Linked DNA regions of Homo sapiens: all the other regions are linked to region 3. Evidence: promoter capture Hi-C in human tissues and cell types (Jung and others, 2019). All regions are on one chromosome and are shown on one strand. Each heading gives the region's core, a stretch centred on a gene start or on the middle of the fragment in contact. The rest is flanking DNA. Distances are from core to core; before and after follow the strand shown. Region 1 overlaps TAT (tyrosine aminotransferase). Region 2 overlaps LOC124903709 (a long non-coding RNA gene). Region 3 holds the start of VAC14 (VAC14 component of PIKFYVE complex). Region 4 has its middle 14 kb from the start of TAT-AS1.

Region 1 (3,447 bases), core at 1-2,500, 770 kb after region 3:
GGATCCGGCTGCACGCCTCCAGCATCATCACCTCGGGGACTGTGATGACCACTCGGATGAAATTCGGGTACTCAAAGCACTGCAAAAAGAAGAGTCTGTTACTTTCAGAGCAATTGAGTCTGGTACTGGACCACCCTAAAATGGTCAGGACCCTGATCCACAAGAAGTGGTACCATTTCATCAGGGCCATCAGTTCATTCAGCTCCCATGACTGGGATGCTAAGTCAGCAACTGAGTTCATTCATCTTAAAATGACTTGTGGGACAGGATCAATTTCCTCTCACCTAGAACGTTTGTTTACAACTTTTCTTCCCAGTATGGATGGGATTATGATGGGGGGGAGAAGCAAATTTTAAATAGGATCCATGAGACACATCAGTTTGAATCTTATCAAATGAGAAGACATTTTGTTGGAGGAGAAAAGATCAGGCTAAAAACCAGCTCAGAACTTGCTTCTGGGGCTCTAGAAACTGTTGAGAATGTCCTGAGGGACACAGGCACCCACCGTTGCTGGGAGGCAGTGGACAGACTGCTCAGCAACTAACCGCTCCGTGAACTCCACATCGTTCTCAAATTCTGGGAAATGTTCCATCTCAATTCCAACCTATACCAACAGGAGGGAGAGGCCAACTTATCAGAAGGAGGGAGAACAGGCCAATTTCCTGTGCCAGAAATTAAGGTAGGGGCTACTTTAAAAGATATCTTGGAACTGTGCTACTGATCACTGATAAATAAGAGGGCTAATATTTATGGAATTTTTCTCAGGGAAGACAGGATATATTTTTATTAATAAATATTAAAGAGTTCCTTCCCTGATGCTGATAAATAAAAGCTGGAAATAGAATGCTAGTATGTCTCAAAAGAGACACTACTGGCATTAGGGCCAGGCAACTCTTTATGGCATGAGACTAGCCCACCCCTTGCAGGATATTTAACATCCCTGACCCACAAAATGGCAGCCCCTAGTCATTCTGAAAACAAACAAAATTCCCATACATTCCCAGATACCCTTAGGGAACCAGTATCACTCCCAGTTGAGAATTACAATGGTATGAAAAGCCTCTTATTTGTGTTTTAAATCTTCCCTGTATCTACATATATAAAATGATTCTCTGTACTGAAAAATTAAATCTTTTTTTTTTTTCTTTTCGGATGGGGTCTCACTCTGTCTCCCAGACGGGAGTACAGTGGCACGATTATGGCTCACTACAGCCTCAACCTCCAAGGCTCAAGTCATTCTTCCATCTCAGCCTCCCAAGGAGCTAGGACTACAGGAGTGTGCCACCACGCCCAGCTCATTTTTTTTATTTCTTGTAGAGACAATAGAGTTTCACCATGTTGCCCAGGCTGGTCTCTAACTCCTGCGCTCAAGTGATCCGTCCACCTTGGCCTCCCAAAGTGCTGGCATTGCAGGCGTGAGCCACCATGCCCTGCCTAATTAAGTCATTTAAAGAGTTTTATGAGAACTGATAGAGGCTAAATTACCTCAGTGGGACAATTCAGAATAAGACAACTCCTAAACTGCTTGGCTTAGGAGGCCAGCTGGTTGTCTTTGTACCCTGCGTGACTGCCTGTGGCAATTCTGCTGAATGACTGCCCTTTGCCTTACAACATGCATTGACCTAGTGCCTGCCACCCACATACTCACCATGAGGTACATAGCCCCAGAAGGGCGGACTGGCCGGAGTCCAGGGATGGCAGCCAACGCCCCATAACAGAGATCAGCATTGGACTACAAGAAGAGGCAAGGAGAAATCAAGGATCAAAATTTAAGTAAAAGAAAAGCCAAGTCATTAAAAATAGCCCCCTCATTGAAGAGTGGGAACGTAGGTGTGATGTTCTGGCATAAGGAGTGAAAAAGAAAAAGCTCTATTACTTGAAGCTTTTCACCAGGGGCAGAGAGAATGGCCGGAAGTGAGAAACGTGTGTGTGGATGCTTACACCGATGCCGTCTCCTAATATTGGAACATGGCTCCAGAAAGGAGAACCAATTATTCCTAATTCCACGGGCGGCATTCTCTGACTCCCAAACTCCCAAAGTGGAGGGCAGGAGCTGCCCTTACCTTGAGGAAGCTCAGAGTGTTGTGGTAAAACTCTCCCGGGGTGCGACATAGGATGCTTTTCAGAGCTCCCTGGACAATGGTACAGGGTCCCAAAATGCGCTGACTCAGCTTCACCAGCCCATCTCGGATCTAAAAGACACCCACAAGAAACATGTTGTTTAGCTTTTCTTAAGCATCTCTGTCTTAGAGTTTCTTGTTCTGACCTTTCTATCAGGTTTTTAATCTTGGAAAGTGATGGTGTCTAGTGGCATTCTTAGATCAGACCCTCTGGGTTCGTAGCCCAGCTCTGCCACACACATGCTGCTTGACTGACAAGGAGAAAGAAAAGAAAAAAGCCTCCCTTGTCCCCACTGTGCTCATGAAATAAATATATACCCTAAATTACACATACTCTTTCACCATATTATCACCTCATTGCCAAAAATGTCTCTTCGGTCATGAATGAGGATCCAGCCCAACCTCCAGCCAGGAACCAGCCAGCGCTTGGCCAGCCCTCCACAGGACAGGATGGGGACATCGGTGCTGAGGGTGGCCAGTGGTTCATATTTGCAATCCGAAAACACCTGAGAAGAGGCACTTGTTATGGTTGTTTTCTTGTCTACTTCTCACTGCAATCCCAGATCCCGTGGCTCCCACCCATTTCCTTCTATCACTAGGGACAGGTCCTTGGATTAATGGGATCATCCCTACCCTGAAGCATGACTGGGATTGCAAGAGGCTTTGAAGGGGACTACACAAAGACATTTAATTTGGTGTCTGGACTGGATTAAAGGAAGCCTAAAATGAGGAAACTGACCCTAGCCCAGTAATATTTACAACTCCATGAAGCTGGCTCTATGAAATTACTGTCTATAGGAGTTACAGATTTAAAATATAAGTCCACAATCCCTTATCTGAAATTCCTGGGGCCAGGTATTTTCATAATGCAAAATGGTTTGGGCTTCAGAAAGGCCATGTAGCACACTTACCATACGTTATGTAACACTCCCAGAGCTGTCTAGGATAGTACCCCTAATCAAGAATATTAACATTTCTGCCATTTTCCCCACACTCTTAACAAATATATAGATCCACAAGTGGGAAAAATAAAAATCTACAAATATCAGGTCAAATCAGGTTTTGTAACCAAATGAATTCCAGGAATCTTTGGATTTCCAAAGTTCTTTGGGTTTCAGAAAACTGGCTAAGGAGTTGTGGGTCTATATATTTGTAAAAAGTGCAGGGATGCTGATTTGCTGTAATGAAACGATTAGGAGTTGTTTCTGATTATTCCACTTCTAAAGTTCCCATAAAATAATTTGAGATTACTGTAGTGATATATCCTGATCAAGACTCACCATGTCTCCATAGATCTCATCAGCTAAGATGGGGACACACTGCCGTG
Region 2 (3,351 bases), core at 824-3,323, 670 kb after region 3:
TTTTATTTGTCAGTAATGAAGTTAGTAATGCATAAGTTTGTAAATATGACATATTATAAGTAGGAGAAAGACCTACAGTGCCAAACTCCTTCAAAGTTTTTTGTGCATAACCTCACAGAAACATGCTAACAACAATCAAGTTCGGAAGATTTTTACCACAGAGAAAGCAGATCCAATCCATTGTATGTTTCTGAAAATAGGTTAACAGGTGGGGGTTAGCACGTGAGGAGAGGGCATGAAAAAGAATCAAGCAGCCTGTCTCCAAATGAATACAACATACCTTCTTTCTCACATGTATTGCCTGATAATTTGCTTATATGTGCCTAGGAAGAGCCCTGAGCATTCTTCCTTACATAGTATGACCAGGTATTACACATTTTCCCCTAACTTGAAGGACGTTGGCCTCTGGCATAACACAATGATACTAGGTACCAATCCCATAGACCTCCCAAGGGAATCGGTCCAATTATCAGCTCTGATGCTGAAGTTTCTAGAAGGAAGAGAAAGAATCTCAACCCCCACCGTGTCATAAAGAACCTTGTAAAAGACTGCTGATTTTAGAGGATTACAATTGCCAGGTACACCGGAGTGGAAAGCCCCAAGAAATTAACAGTGACCACTACAACCTGTGTTTAGTGTCATCCAGGTACAAAGGACAGCAGTAGAAAACAGAGAAGCCGTGGTGCTGTCCAAGGTGCTAGCTCCGACTCAGTGGGGGGGGGGGGGGGGGTGTGTCTGTGGCGCTCTCCAAGGTTCTGGGGCTGGCCTCAGAACCATTGTCCTCCAACCTGGTGTGTTGGTCCCCTCTGACTATATATGTGTGTGTGTTTTTGAGGAGTCTCACTCTTGTCACCCAGTCTGGAGTGCAGTGGCACGATCTCAGTTCACTGCAACCTCCACCTCCCGGGTTCAAGCGATTCTCTGGCCTCAGCCTCCCGAGTAACTGGGATTACAGGCGCCCACCACTACACCTGGCTGATTTTTGTATATTTAGTAGAGATGGGGTTTCACCATATCGACCAGGCTGGTCTCGAACTCCTGACCTCAGGTGATCCACCTGCCTTGGCCTCCCAAAGTGCTGAGATTACAGGCATTAGCCACCATGCCCAGCCTCCCTCTGGCTATATTTTAAGCCTGATATCCAAATACTTAATCTCACCCTATTCCTTTCTTTGAATTCATTTGGTCAGAACCTGACACGTATCACCCAGTGCCCCAGTTCCTACTTGTCTTCTCTATCACTCTGCCTCAAAATCCAGAGATTCCAAGGATGATAATTTATTGTGGGCCCAAATGGCTAAGAGAGGCTCTTCTGGGAAGCTTTCTTACATCATATAAATTTTTGTTAACATGAATTATTTGTATTTGAAAGATTTAAAAGACAAGGAAGCTATGTATTGTTCTTGTTGTTAACAATAAATTACCTCAACACTATTTGAACATAATAAAAATGTAATAAAACCTGAAACTTCGTGTGTTCCAATTGCTTTATTCAACTAACTTACACTCCTTTCCTGGTGAGTTACCTTGCATTCAGGTGTTCTGAGCCATGAAAACATTTTTCTTTCTTTTCTCTTTTTTGTAGAGATGGGGTCTCGCTATGCTGCGTTGGCTGGTTTGGAACTCCTGGCCTCAAGGGATCCAACCATTTTAGTCTCCCAAAGTGCTAGGATTATAGACATGTGCCATGATGCCTGGCCCAAAGACATCTTTAATCTGAATTGCACTTCATTAACTATTAGACACATTTATGTTTATTATGTAATGCTTTCTTCACATCCATACTGAAGAAGATCCAGTAGGTATTATATCTATTTTATAGATGAAGAAAAACAAAGCTTACATGTTACAGTCTTTGTAGAACATAGACTGTAGTGGGGGACACAACTTTTAAGTAAATCCACACCTGGATAAATATATTATTGTAAACTTTCATTCGTGTGAGGGAGGTAAAGAGCAAGGTGTTTAGGAGATAATATCAAGGGAATACCATTTTAACTTGGAGGTAAGGAAAGGCCTGAGGAAGTGATCTTGATCTTGGGCTGAGACCTGAAAGATAAGAATGAACTATCTGGGCACATAATCAAGGAGACAGCATTCCAGGCAGGAGGAATAGCATGTGTAGGCCCTTCAGTGGAAAAAAAAAAAAAAAAAAAGCTTGACACATCATGGGGAGAGAGGAGGGAGGAAGTGCTGCGCCATGAAGTCATTAGAGCTTTGCAGGCCATGTTAAAGAGTTTGGATTTTATTCCAAGGTCAATGGAAACCCATTGAAATGTTTTAAGAAAAGCATGTTATGTTCCATATTTTTAAAAGCACACCTGGCTGCTGACTGGCAGATAGATTAGAAGGATTCAAGAGCAGAAGTGGGGAGACTACTTAAGGAGCAATTGTGGTAGTCTAGGAAAGAAATGTTGGTGGCTCAGAACAAGGCAGTAGCACCAGGAACTGGAGAGAAGCTCCATGTTGCTCATCAGTAACATGTTCTGTCATCATGTGCTATCATCTAGCATGTTGCTTAGCACACAGAAGTCACTAAATAAATATTTATTGCCAGGCACAGTGACCCATGTCTGTGATTCCGGCACTTTGGGAGACCAAGGTGGGAGGATTGCTTGGCCTCAGGAGTTCTAGACCAGCCTGGGCAACATAGTGAAACCTTGTCTCTACAAAATATACATAAATTGATGGGCACAATGGCTCACACCTGTAATCCCAGTACTTTGAGAGGCTGAGGTGGGCAGATCACAAGGTCAGGAGTTCGAGACCAGCCTGGCCAATATGGTGAAACCCCATCTCTACTAAAAATACAAAAATTAGCCAGGCGTGGTGGCGCTTGCCTGTAGTCCCAGCTACTCAGGAGGCTAAGGCAGAAGAGTCGCTTGAACCCACGAGGCAGAGGTTGCAGTGAGCCGAGATCATGCCACTGCACTCCAGCCTGGGCAACAGAGCGAGACTCCATCTCAAAAAAAAAATTTATATATATATATAAACTGGGTGTGGTGGCGCATGCCTGTAGTCCCAACTACTAGGGAGGCTGAGGTACGAGGATCACTTGAGCCTGGGAGGGCAAGTCTGCAGTGAGCCATGATCGTGCCACTGCACTCCAGCCTGGGTGGTAGAGCAAGACCCTGTGTCAAAAAAAAAGTTGAGTAATTAATAAAATCATTTATTGTATGTGGCATACTTCTAAGGATTCTTTTATTTGCATGGCTCCAAGTGCTTGTTTTAGTTGATAATCTGAGGGACATGCATTGCCAGGTCCTCCTTACAGGCTGATAACCGTGATATTTACCATGTTTTACCTCCTGGCCACACATAGCTACAGTTATATAAACAACTTAGTCTATC
Region 3 (3,272 bases), core at 182-2,681:
GTTAAGGAATTTGCCCCAGGTTAACGAATGAATGTCACACCACGGAATAGATTAGAGCAGTCCAATAGAGCATTCTGCAATGATGGAAACAGTCTATAATCTGTGCTGCCCTATATAGCAGCCAATAGCTACATGTGGCTATTGAACACTTGAAATACGGGTAGTGTGACTGAGAAACTAAAGTTTAATCTTTAATAATTTAAATTTATAATAGCTACGCACGGCCAACGGCTACTCTACTGGACAGAACAGAAATACAATTCACCTTTTCTGACTCGCAGACTGGTATTCTTCCAGTTTCACAGCCTGCTTCTTTCCAATTTTCTGAAATCACTCACTCACTTGACTTTAACACTAAAATGTGACTGGGAAAAAACCCACAAAAGTAAAATAATACTGCAGAAAAAAAAATAAATAAAACATCCCCAGTTAAACTTTCGCTGTTTTGTACATTGGGAAATAAAGTAAAATATCAGATCATTGTTACACATACATGTAACAAGACTGCAGAAGCAAGAAAGGTCAAATTATTTCTACTTCCACTTGCAGGGAAGGGTGTTATAACACAGATAAAACAAAAAACTCTCTGAGCCTTGAGATCACGAGTTTTCCGACCTGATTTCTCTACTTGGTCACTAACAATCTCCTTCACTTCTCAGAAGCTGGGTAAGAAACCAGGCTGGTCAGCATCACCTGCAAATTCTCCGGCTTCTGACTTCTCTCTCACCACAGAGACAACTCTCTGATTTGCTGGTTTGGGTGGCACCGCACCGAAGACTCACCATGTGCCATGCACTGTGCAAAGCACTACCCATACATGATGTCACTTCATTCTCACTGCAGCCCTTTGTGGCACCGGGAGGTTAAAAAGCTGGGACCAAATCACACAGCCAGTCAGGAGTAAAGCAGGGACTCCCAGATATGGCTCCCAATCTGCTCTTAAACACTGCGCTAAGGTAAGGGCCTAAAACCTGGGAAAGTAACCCTGGCTGGGAAGGCGTGAGAAGTCCCCCTGGGGAGCAGAGCAGTCAGGGGCTGCATAGCCAGGGAGGGGTCCTGGCGGCTCTTACTTCTCGATCTCCAGCGCTGCCACCTTCCGCTTTTCGTACAGCTTGTCATTGAGGGCGCGCACGATGTTAGGCGTGAGCGGCGCGAAATCCTTCTCGGGGTTCATGGTGGCAGCTGGGGGAACCTCGCGACTCCTTAGCCCGCGGCTGCCGGGGCCGCGCCGGGGCCAGGGGAGTCTGCGGCTCCGCTCTGCCCCCGGCGCCGGCGCATGGACCACGCCGCTCTAGGCTTGCCTGCCACGCTCCGCCGCCTCGCCCTGGAACCCGGGCCCGGACCCCGCTCCAGCACACCTGACCCTGGCCGCTTAACAACTCCCGCCCGGCACTAGCGGGACTCACGAGACAGCGGCCATGTTACTCGAGTCACATGACTCTACAGCACTTCCGCCTTCCGTCGCGAGGGCCCGCCCCTCTCCAGCCACGCCCCCACCGCAGGCCGCAGGTGGATTGGCCACGCCCTCGGAAGGCTCCACCCACACTGCACACACTATCGCGCTGCGCGCCAGGTAGCTGGAGTGTGGTTTGAGACGTGCTTTAATGGGTGTGTAGCTCACGCCCAACTGATGGCACGTGGTGGGCTTCTGTAGACGTTCGTAAGACCGAATGGGTTCTTGGAGTCTGATTCACTTAACATAATTTATTCAATAGTCACCGAATTCACTAGTTCATTCAGTAGTTGGTCACTTACCAATTTCCTAGATGCAGACGTTTCCCTAACTGCAGTAACACTGTCATCACTTTCACCATATTCTAGCCACTTGTATTATCTATTTAATGTTTTCCTCAAATCAACTCACTTTAAAAAATACCTTAAATCTCTTTTAGCTTTGCTTATGCCCTAAAACCATGAGTTTGAATAGGTATATTTTTTCTAAGACACATCAAAATAAATTCTCAATTAAAAATGGCACTACCTGTCTACCACCTAAGATCTCAGGTACCACCAGTGTCTGTCACTCCACCATTTGGGGGTGTGTTTAACATGCTCTGATGCCTAGGAGGGCTGGTTACAGACAGAGAGAAAGGCCCCAGATCTGCTGAGTGCGGGTCTCTAGATAGGTCCCCTGGAAAGCAGCCCCTTCAGCTGCTTCGGGAATCACATTACATGGTGAGACAGAAATCCCAACTATGTGGCAAAATATTTAAAAGCAATTTATGGCCGGAGTGTGGTAAACATGCAGTTAACAGGGAGGTGCATCAGCCTTTCCTATCATAAGCTTTCAGAGTGAACAGGGACTTAGGACAAGGGCTAGATTACAGTGGAGCTCAAAGAATAACAGTTTCAGAATGCATGGTGATACTTTTCTTTAATGAATGAAAAGTGCATATATAGGCCTTATAACAGTCTTGAAAATGGAGTATTTTCCTCAACAGAAACAGGGACGCAATGAGTAAAGGGCAAAAGTAGGCAGAATTCTAGGATGACCTCCAATATTCCCACCCCTTCGTGTTCATGCCCTGTATTATGCCCTCTTTCAGCGTGAACAAGACTTGTAAATATGATGGGCTATGCATCACTCACATGATTATATTATGTAATATCGCAGAAGAGATTTTGCAGATGTAATTAAGGTCCCTAATCAGCAGACATTGAATTAATAAAAAGAGAGATTAACTTGAGTCGGCCTGACCGAATCAAGTGAGTACTTAAAAGAGATTAGAAGAAATTTGAACTGGAAGAGAGACTCTCCTGTAAGGAGTTTAGTCATATGGCCACAAAGGAATGAATTTTGCCAACACATTGAGGGTCCTTGGAAGCAGATCTTTCCCTAGTTGAGCCTCCTGATGAGGATGCAGCTGGCCAGCACCTTGATTTCAGCCTTGTGGAACCCTGAGCTGAGAATCCAGTTCACACTGGGCTCTCAACCCATGGAAACTGTGAGATAATAAATTTGTGTTGTTTTGCTCTCCTAGTTTTGTGGTAATTTGTTATGCAGCCATAGAAAATGAATACAAAGGCTAATCCAAAACTCGGCAAGTCATGGATATATCATGTCTAGAAAAATCCATAAAAAATGTATTCTCCTATACAGGTGGGGTTTTCATAGTTGTTAAAACCTTTGCTGACACAATCCTATGAATGAAGGTAGGTGCGCTAACAAGTAGTAGTAGTGCTGCCAAGGACATCTCCAAATGTCTTGCAAAGTTTGGTTTTAGGATTTTGATGATGGTTGATGAAAAACACTGAAAAAATGTAAATCAATG
Region 4 (3,716 bases), core at 555-3,054, 750 kb after region 3:
CAGGGAACTCAACTGGGGTTTCCTTCCAAAACCCAGTCCCCACTTGTATGGCAGAAGCTATTCCTAGGCACAGAAGGCTCAGAAAATTGTCTCAATTACCTCCACACCAGCTCACTCATAGGTTTTATGCCAGGAGGCGCAGGCTAGAAAGACTAGGGGCTACCATCCAAATCCAAGGCTCCACTTGTGGAGCAAGGCAGGTGTATCATTTCAGAAGAAGTGGACCACATTCCTTGTCCCCCCGACTCTGATGTAGTGGCAGAGATTCTGTCCAGGGGGAGAGAAGGCCATAAGAATAGAGAGCTCAGAGACTCTTTCAAAAAGGACTTACTGAGCTGGGTGCGGTGGCTCATGCCTGTAATCCCAGCACTTTGGGAGGCCAGCGGGGGTGGATCACCTGAGGTCAGGAGTTCGAGACCAGCCTGGCTAACATGGCAAAATCCCATCTCCACTAAAAATACAAAATTAGCCAGGCATGGTGGCACACACCTGTAATCCCAGCTACTCGGGAGGCTGATCCAAGAGAATCGCTTGAAACCGGGAGACAGAGGTTGCAGTGAACCAAGGTCGTGCCACTGCACTCCAGCCTGAGCAACAGAGCAAGACATTGTCTAAAATAAAATAAAATAGAATAAAATAAAATAAAATAAAATAAAAGGACTTACTGTACTTAGAGGAAAATGTGAGGAAGTTCATGCCTAAGTGTGCTGTCAAAAACTGGAGATTTTGGTGGTAAACAATTAGGAGGAGTCTCTTAGCTCCATTAAACTACTAGCAACAAATAAAATGGTAGACCAGCTAGAAGTTTAACAGAGAACCAGGGAAAGAGACAGCTAAGCAGAGCCCTCCTGGGCTCGAAGCAAGCCTCAAAGACCGCCCCAGCAAAGGGACCTGACTAGCTGAATCAGGTGATGGAGCAATTTATGCCCCAGACATTGTTACAAAAAAAAAATAGAGCAACCAGCTAGCAGTTATTGGTAGCTAACAGCTGGATATGTTACCGAGAAAGTCAGACCAGAAAGAAGCTTAACAGGGGACCAGAGAAAATATAATTAAAGAGAACCCTGCTAAAACTCCAGTAATCTCAGCTCATCAGAGGGACTATGTGCATGGCCAAGGCTTCACTCTCTAAGGAGCAACATTACACTATGAGGGAAATGGATTTCAATAATCTGTTCCAGCCAAGTCACTAAAGAAATAAAAAAAAAAGCAAATAACGGGCCCCAGATGAGAGGGTGATTAATATTCAGAATCTATAAAATTTATCTGAAATGCATAATTTTCAACAAAAATTATGAGATTTGCAAAGACATAGAAAAGTGTGACCCAAAAACAAAAAGGGGGAAAATCAGGCAATAGAACATGCCTTTGAGGAGCCCAGATGTTGGACTTAACAAAGACTTCAAAGCCCCTGTTATAAATATGTTCAAAGAACTAAACGACACCATGCTTAAAGAATTAAAGGAAGGTATGTTGACAATGTCTCATCCAACAAATATTATCAATAAAGAGATAGAAAATATTTTTAAAAGAATGAATGAAAATGAAGATATAACATACCAAAACTTATGGGATAGAGCTAAAATAGTGCTTAAAGGGAAATATTTAGCTGTAAATATCAATGTTAAAAAAGGAAGAAAAATCTCAAATCAATAACTAAACTTCCACCTTGAAAACAGAAGAAAAGAAAATCAAACTCAACCCAGAGCAAGAAGAAAGAAAGAAACAATAGGCCAGGCATGGTGGCTCATGCCTATAATCTCAGCACCTTGGAAGACTAAAGCAGGAGGATCACCTGAGCCCAGGAGTTTGAGACCAGCCTGGGCAACATAGTGAGACCCCATCTCTAAAAAAAAAAAAAAAAAAAAATTTAAATTAGCAGCGATGGTGGTGTGCACCTGCAGTCCCAGCTACTCAGGAGGCTGAAGTGGGAGGATCACTTGAGCCTGGGAGGTCGAGGATGCAGTGAGCCATGATTGCACCACTGCACTCCAGCCTGGGCAACAGAACAAGACCCTATCTCAAAAAAAAAAAAAAAAAGAGAGAGAGAGAGCAAGAGAGAGAAACAATAAAAATTAGAGCAGAAATAAAGGAAATAGAGAGTGAGAAGTGGGAGAGAGAAAAAAATCAGTGTAACCAAATTTGGTTCTTTGAAAAGATCAACAAAATAGACAGTTTTAGCTAGACTGACCAACAAAAGAAAACAGACTAATTACTAAAATCAGAAATGAAAGAGGGACATTATTACTGACCTTACAAAAATAAAAAAGAATTATCAGGGAATACTAAAAACAACCAGTTAGATAACTTAGATGAAATGGACACATTCCTAGAAAGATACAAACTACCAAAACTAACTCAAGAAGAAATAGAAAATCCGAAAACACCTATAACAAGTAAAGAGATTAAATTAGTAATTTAAAATTTCTCGCCTGTAATCCCAGCACTTTGGGTGGCCGAGGCGGGCAGATCACTAGGTCAACAGATCGAGACCATCCTGGCCAACATGGTGAAGCCCTGTCTCTACTAAAAATACAAAAATTAGCTCGGTGTGGTGGTGCGCGGCTGTAGTCCCAGCTACTTGGGAGGCTGAGGCAGGAGAATTGCTTGAACCCGGGAGACAGAGGTTGCAGTGAGCCGAGATCACGCTACTGCACTCTAGCCTGGTGACAGAGTGAGACTCCGTCTAATAAAAAAAAAAAGCTCTCATAAAGAATAGCCCAAGCGACTTTGCTGGTGAATTCTAACAAACATTTAAAGAATTTCTATGAATCCTCTCAAACTCTTCCAAAATACAGAAAAATAGTACACATTTCCCAATTCATTCTAGAAGCCAATGTTACCCTGATAGAAAAACCAGACAAACATATCACACAAAAAACTACATACCAATATATCTTATGACTATGGATGTAAAAGCAACAAAATACTAGTCAATGGAATCCAGTAACATGTAAAAAGAATTATACACCATTTTCAACTGGGAATTGTCCAGAAATGTAAGGTTGGTTTTACATTGTAAAATCAATTAACACAATACACTATGTTAATAGAATAAAGGATAAAAACCACTTGACCCATCTCAATAGATGCAGAAAGACAGTTGACAAAATCTAGCAACCTTTCATGATTTAAAAATCAACAATAGAACTTCCTCAAACTGATAAAGAGCATCTATTAAAAACCCACAGCTAACATCATACTTAATGATGAAAGAATGAATGTTTTTCCCCCAAGATCAAAAATAAGACAAGGATGTCTACTCTCACCTTTGTAGTCAATATCATACTGGAGATTCTATCCAGGGAAATTGGGCAAGAAATAAAAGGCACCCAGATTGGAAAGAAACAAGTAAAATTATCTCTATTTTCCGATGACATAATCTTATGTGTAGAAAGTCCTAAGGAATCTTGTTGCCCAAGAAGCAGTGGCCAACAGACAGGTGCCTGGAGGGAGCGTGGAAATGATGAATTGGTGGAACTTTAGCGACCTCTAAGTGCAGATGGGAGAAGGCAGTTGGATGTGCAAGTCTAAAGTTCAGAAGGGAAGTCTAGACTAGAGACACACATTTGAGAGTTGACAACTTATGTTTACTGAAGCACGGTTAAGATGGTGTTGGAAAGGGAGAATTTGGCCCATGGGAACCTCTGGGATTCATTGGTTCTTAAAAAGAAGGTGGTAGTTAATGCAGAAACACTGGAAATAAGAAGTAGAGG

What was found. Contacts are between HindIII fragments. The study calls those that stand out against the background at their distance.
Region 1: a fragment that was not itself captured here is called in contact with the fragment with the promoter of VAC14 in region 3 in 1 of the 25 tissues and cell types used here (dorsolateral prefrontal cortex).
Region 2: a fragment that was not itself captured here is called in contact with the fragment with the promoter of VAC14 in region 3 in 1 of the 25 tissues and cell types used here (dorsolateral prefrontal cortex).
Region 4: a fragment that was not itself captured here is called in contact with the fragment with the promoter of VAC14 in region 3 in 1 of the 25 tissues and cell types used here (dorsolateral prefrontal cortex).

What each region holds. Positions count from the first base shown.
Region 1 is chr16:71,568,206-71,571,652 of GRCh38, forward strand. It overlaps TAT (tyrosine aminotransferase), which reads right to left. Exons shown (of 12, transcript NM_000353.3): 7 at 3,401-3,447; 8 at 2,474-2,626; 9 at 2,064-2,192; 10 at 1,649-1,732; 11 at 506-604; 12 at 1-79. All of the region lies in intron 2 of TAT-AS1 (TAT antisense RNA 1), which reads left to right. Among named protein-coding and RNA genes, the nearest start is that of TAT-AS1, 4.9 kb to the left of the region's middle. The HindIII fragment of the contact is 5,920 bases long and covers 1-3,447 here.
Region 2 is chr16:71,467,248-71,470,598 of GRCh38, forward strand. LOC124903709 (a long non-coding RNA gene) reads left to right here. Exons shown (of 2, transcript XR_007065105.1): 2 at 1-1,468. Among named protein-coding and RNA genes, the nearest start is that of ZNF23, 6.7 kb to the left of the region's middle. The HindIII fragment of the contact is 3,482 bases long and covers 333-3,351 here.
Region 3 is chr16:70,799,727-70,802,998 of GRCh38, forward strand. VAC14 (VAC14 component of PIKFYVE complex) reads right to left here and starts at 1,432. Exons shown (of 19, transcript NM_018052.5): 1 at 1,071-1,432. The coding sequence starts at 1,174. HYDIN (HYDIN axonemal central pair apparatus protein) reads right to left here. Exons shown (of 86, transcript NM_001270974.2): 86 at 2,358-3,272. RefSeq lists enhancers at 1,118-1,740, 1,408-1,467 and a silencer at 1,138-1,327. The HindIII fragment of the contact is 10,557 bases long and covers 1-3,272 here.
Region 4 is chr16:71,549,426-71,553,141 of GRCh38, forward strand. No RefSeq gene overlaps it. Among named protein-coding and RNA genes, the nearest start is that of TAT-AS1, 14 kb to the right of the region's middle. The HindIII fragment of the contact is 3,015 bases long and covers 298-3,312 here.